Regions from separate parts of the Homo sapiens genome. Here region 1 is linked to region 2. Evidence: promoter capture Hi-C in human tissues and cell types (Jung and others, 2019). All regions are on one chromosome and are shown on one strand. Each heading gives the region's core, a stretch centred on a gene start or on the middle of the fragment in contact. The rest is flanking DNA. Distances are from core to core; before and after follow the strand shown. Region 1 overlaps LOC105378806 (a long non-coding RNA gene). Region 2 holds the start of ASB17 (ankyrin repeat and SOCS box containing 17).

Region 1 (3,191 bases), core at 484-2,983, 39 kb after region 2:
AGTAATGTGTTGGCTATACTAACTTGTATTAGTCTGCTCAGGCTACCATGACAAAATACCATAGGCTGAGTGGCTTAAACAACAGAAGTTTATTTTCTCACAGTTCTGGAGGTTAGAAGTCTAAGATCAAAGTGCCATCAGGTTTGGGATCTGGTGTTGCAGCTCTTCCTAGCATGTATATTGCCACTGTCTCACTATCCTCACATGATCTTTTCTTTGTGTGTGTGCACAGAGAGATCTCTGAGAGCTCTTCCTTTTCTTATAAGGACCCCCATCCTATCTGTTTATGGATCCAGCCTTATGTTCTCATTTAATCTTAATTACCTTCATGAAGGCCCTATTCTAAATACAGTCACATTGAGGGTTAGGGCTTCAACAAATAAATTGTAGGGATCAAAATCCAGTGTATAGCACTACTTGAAGAAGGCTACTCTGGCATGAATTTGCAATGAATGGGAGAGGAAGTGAGACTAGAGTAAGGGAAGGCAGATAGGAGATGATAGTAATAAAAGAGGTGATGGATGACAGTGGCCTGTACTGATGCCCGGTAACTACATCTCATCACCCAAGTATCTGTGGCAATTTCATTTGGTGAACAAAAGGCAAACCTGCCTGAGCACTGTCTAAGGCTAGCAATGCGAAAAAAGGACTCCAGGCTCCTAAACTACCCCAACAACAACCACAGAGCCCCCAGTAATGCAAATTTTTCTCAGTTGGCTGCCAGGTAATTTGCCACATCTTTGAATTGGTTTATAGTTTACCTTCTCCAGATACACAGAAACTTCTTCCTTGATGATATTTTTTCCCTGCTTAGTCAAAAGCATGCAACTGACATGCAGTAGACATCATAGCCATTCTGACTGGTATATGTGATAGAGTTGTAGTTATCTGAGAATTAGACAGATACTGATTCATGTCATGTTTCATGTATTAGATTCTCATCTAATCAAAACATTGCAAAAACATCATCTCCTAAATATGAAATTACTCAGTGAATAAATCATAACAGGAAGCTTTCAGGCAAGCCATATTTAGGAAATGAAATTTAAGTAGGAGAAATTACAAAAGGGATAGGGCAAACAATTGCAGTTCTGAAAATAATCATTTACACTCTCCTAGTACTTGGTGTTGGAGAAGCAATGTGGCTAATAGAAGAGAAATGCAAATTGAGAGAGTCTACTCAATTAAGCAGGATATCATCCCCTGCGATTTACAAAAAATAAAATCTAACCTCCTTAGCATGGCATACGAAGCCTTTCAGGGTCTTTCCTCACCAGGTTGTTCTGCCTTGTATTCTTTCCTCACATGTTTCCCCTTCCTGGTATATCCTTTCCTTGTTTGCCTATTGGTCAAATTCATGTTTACTTCACAAGTTTTTGCTTAAGCATGACTTCCTCTCTGACAGCTTTTCCATCTTCTGTGCTTTACCACCCACTACATTAAGTTCTCTTTCCCTGCATTTCTATTGTACCCTGTTACGCTTCCATTGCAGTACATTATGAATGCACATACAGTTAATCCTTATTATTCACAGATTCCATATTTGTGAATTTTCCTACTTGCTAAAATTTATTTGTAACCCCTAAATTGATACTTGCATCACTTTCCTAGTCATTTGTAGACACACGTATGCATAATGGCAAAAATTTTATGTCACCTGACACACATTCCCAGCTGAGATCAAATTAAGGGACACTCTGTTTTCTTCCTTTAGCTCTCATACTATGAACATATATCTATTTTGTGGTCTGTTTGGCGCCATATTGTCACATTTTTGTGCTTTTCATTGGTGATTTCCCCATCTAGAATGGCCCCCAAGGATAGTGCTGAAGTGCTGGCTAGTGCGCCTAACCGCAAAAAGTCTCTGATGTGTCTTAAAAAGAACATGTGTGTTAGGTAAGCTTCACTTAGGCACGAAGTCTAATGCTGTTGGCTAGCATTGTATTCAATGTCAGTGAATCAAAAATATGTATTAAATAAGGTATCTTTAAACAGAATGCCACATAAAACAAGGTTACATACTGATCAGTGGACAAAACAAATTTTGTGACCAGAGGTTCACAGGAACTTAACCCCATGTTTCCCCTTGGAGCAGTGGTTCAATATTTGATAATTTAGCATTTGGAATGACTTTATAGAATATGATTCTCATGAATAATGAGAATAAACTATATTCATATATTTGTGTACCTATAAAATTCCTTGAGAAATGAAACTATCACCTTTGTGTACCTAACACTAGCATTATGGTTAATATAAGCACATGGTTGGTGCTTGATATTCTTGACAATAATACCAAGGGATATTTCAAACACTGATTTCATTGGCCATTACAGGTTCTTCCTTATGCCAGTCCACCAAGAATACCTGCTTAAAGGCCAGGTAATTACAAGTCCCTTTTAAATATTAGCTTGGGCATAAGCTCCTAAGAAATTGTTAATGGTCTTAAACCTTTATTGATTTAAAGGGATTGTGGCATTACTGAGTTGGGAGTTATGTAACTCTAGGAAAAGTCAAGACATTATCTAGTATACACAGACAGAAAGAGGCTACTTAAAACAGATTTGCTAAAGCAGTGGGTTTCAATGGTAGGGCCTAGGAATTTGTATTTTTAACAAGGACCCTAGTGATTCATATGTAAGATGTTAACAAAACACCATGAGAAACAGTGCTATCAGGTGTTCCTTACCTAGTTGTCTTCTTTGGGGATACCCAAAGCGATCTTTTTTTTTTTTTTTTTGAGATGGAGTCTCACTCTGTCGCCCAGGCTGGAGTGCAGTGGCTCGATCTCAGCTCACTGCAAGCTCCACCTCCCGGGTTCACGCCATTTTCCTGTCTCAGCCTCCCGAGTAGCTGGGACTACAGGCACCCGCCACCGCACCTGGCTAATTTTTTGTATTTTTAATAGAGACGGGGTTTCACGGTGTTAGCCAGGATGGTCTCAATCTCCTGACCTCGTGATCCGCCCGCCTCGGCCTCCTAAAGTGCTGGGATTACAGGCGTGAGCCACTGTGCCTGGCCAGGGATCTTTAACTCTGGTAATTTTTCAGAGAACTAAAGCATTTTTGTGATTCCATAAATTTTAAATATTTTACCATCTCTGTGCATTTACAAATAACTCTACTGGGTCTATTTCATCTCTTTTTCACTAAGGAGCAAGTGGTAATCAGTTTGACTAAGAGTTCAGATTA
Region 2 (2,984 bases), core at 208-2,707:
TCCAAACTACAGCTATCAGTTCATGTACTTTAGTAATCATTAAGTAATGAAATCCAGTGGTTCTCCGATACCATAGGATGCACAATCAAGAAAAAACTCTGCTTTAGGCAGAATCTAAATTGGTTTAGTCTTTAACTGATCTTGTCCATTTTGTTTTTCATTGCATACATGCATTTATATTGCACCTAGTACAGACTTGCATACATAGTAATGTGATTAATAAATATTTTGCTGAATGAATGAACACATGAATGTTTTATTCAGATGAATATCTAAAACGAAAGAATAAATTAAAGTTAGTGCAAACTAGGTAACTTTAAATTCTATATTATGGACTCTAAAAAGAGGATACATTGGAGATTTGATTTTCATAAGATCCTCAGTAGTATGCATTAGGTAGATTGACATGTGAACACTATAAAAATTTGGTTCTATTATCGATAGCATCAGGTACTTGACCTTCATTGTGCTCAAATTTGGAGAATTTGGAGTCTAATTTATAAATGTTTAACACACAAATAGGGAACTATTGTGTTTAATAAGTATTACTATGTGAAGATGTGTGCATGTTCCCAATTGTACTTTGAAAGTCAGCTTATAAACATATATAAATATAAAACCATAGGATTCGCAGAAATAGGAGATCATAGTATTACACAACATAGTGTCTTTGTTTAGTTAGAGAAACATGTTGTTTAGCACTAACATGTAAGCTGTGTAGAGCAGAATCACTAATGATTTATTGGTACATAATAATTTACATATAAATAAAAATGGAATACATAATAAAAGAGTGAAGGAGTGAACACGTGGTCAAGCAATTAGGTGAGAATTCCTTACTTCACATATAGCCACTATACATGTGAGTTTTAGAAAAAAGAAGCACTCTACTCTCGTAAAGATAAATTTTCTTGTTCTATAGTGAAAACATATGAAATTATTACCTCCATATCAGTGCCAGGTTACAACTTCTGTCTTGAACATAGTCTTTTGTCTTCTTGAGAAGCAATTCCACAAAGTCAGGATTACCTTTTCTGGCAAAAACCCAGTACAGAATTGTATTCACACATATTTCAGTGAAGTCGAGGTTAAAACTTACTTCAAAACGGTATCCTGATTTTTCCACAAATGCAATGTAATCTGTGAGTAGTGCGTCAAAACCATCCAAGTCCACATACCTCAGAATTTTTGCCAGTGATCTGTAAATCCTTGGTTCGTAACAGTGATATCCCCACTGACCCAAAAACTGTAGGGAGGGTCTTTTAACAATTTTGTCAAGGAGATTGCAGAATATATTGCTTCTTGGACAAGAAGTCTTACCACATAATTTAGTAGATTTACTCATTGTTACTTATAGCAGCACTGTAGAAATAAAATCAGAGGTAAGCATACTGTAATCCTCCAGTTACATATTTTGACAATGTGGCAGGCTTTACTCCACAAACAGAAGTGCCCTTTAAACTGTAACCAGAAAAAATAAATATTACCATAAAGTACTGGATGACATCACAATAGGTGGAGATTCCTCCACAATAGGTAGAGGTCACCAGCATAGGTCAGAGGGGATATTGTATGTAACTGGTGACATTTGAAAGAGACATATTGGACAGAAATGACATACGTGAAAGCTAAGATACAATATATTTAATTTTCTAAGAATTCAGTTCAAGGTAGTCTGCCTGGTTTCTCAAGTTCTGCATGTTTCTTCAGTAGACTAAATAATGGTAATAAATACATTGATTATCCTTTGTAGGCTATTATGTAAGCAGACAATGATTGCTAGAGTGAATAAATTCAAGTGTTGTTCTCATGTTCTGCATGAATACTGTATGCTCTCACTTAATCCTCATTGATTATTTCCCCTATCTTGTAGTTGAGGAAATTGAGGCTTACACAGATAATTTTTTTGTTGTTTGAGACAGGGTCTCACCCTGTCACCCAGGCTGGAGTGCAGTGGTACGATCATGGCTCACTGCGGCCTTGACCTCCTGGGCTCAAGCTTTCTCTCACCTCAACTTCCCAAACAACTGGGACTACAGGCATGCACCGCCATGCCTGGCTAATTTTTGTATTTTTTATAGAAACAGAGTTATGCCATGTTGGCCAGGCTGGTCTTGAACTCCCGAGCTCAAGTGATCTCCCTGCCTCAGCCTCCCAAAGTGCTAGGATTACAGGCTTGAGGCACTGTGCCTGACTGAAGCTTACATAGGTTAAGTAACCTGCCAATATATTCATTCCCAAAGAGAAAGAATGTCATACAATATTAACCAAAATTTAAAGACTTTGTTTTAGATTTTTGTTGTTGAGACAGTGTCTTACTCTTTTGCCTTGGCTGGAGTGCAATGGTGCGATCTCGGCTTACTACAACCTCCACCTCCCAGGTTCAAGCAATTCTCCTGCCTCAGCCTCCTGAGTAGCTGGGATTACAGGTGCACACCACCACGCCCGGATAATTTTTGTATTTTAGTAGAGACAGGGTTTCACCATGTTGGCCAGGCTGGCCTCGAACTCCTGACCTCATGATCCGCCTGCCTTGACCTCCCAAAGTGTTGAGATTTCAGGCGTGAGCCACTGCATCTGACCTTTTTTTAGAATTTTAAATTTTACAGAAATTATTCCTCTATAAACCAGGCAGAATGTATACAATTTGAACATTAAAGGTACTTCAAGCTTGATATGGTGTCCTTGCCCCACTACAATAAAGGGGAAAGATGTTATGGTTGTTTTTATCATTATTCTGTAGTTAATGTTTCAGCCACCTTTTTATACTATTCACAGAGTGATCAGTCTTAACAACCTTGGATGTATGTATTAGCGTTTTTAAAGGTAATTAAATATATTCTTTTTCCTTTGGCATATTTTTATTTAAATCATGTGAATGATGTCTCTTTAGTAAGAAAAAATTATTACTTTAGATTTACTATAATATACATCTACTAATATTGCATTTTATTTTGTAAACTCTAAACTGTCTTTTCCCAGCT

What was found. Contacts are between HindIII fragments. The study calls those that stand out against the background at their distance.
Region 1: a contact is called between a fragment that was not itself captured here and the fragment with the promoter of ASB17 in region 2, in 1 of the 25 tissues and cell types used here (H1 embryonic stem cells).

The regions. Positions count from the first base shown.
Region 1 is chr1:75,969,884-75,973,074 of GRCh38, forward strand. The region is part of intron 2 of LOC105378806 (a long non-coding RNA gene); the gene reads right to left. Among named protein-coding and RNA genes, the nearest start is that of ASB17, 39 kb to the left of the region's middle. The HindIII fragment of the contact is 4,750 bases long and covers 1-3,191 here.
Region 2 is chr1:75,930,947-75,933,930 of GRCh38, forward strand. It overlaps ASB17 (ankyrin repeat and SOCS box containing 17), which reads right to left and starts at 1,458. Exons shown (of 3, transcript NM_080868.3): 1 at 945-1,458. The coding sequence starts at 1,345. The HindIII fragment of the contact is 7,737 bases long and covers 1-2,435 here.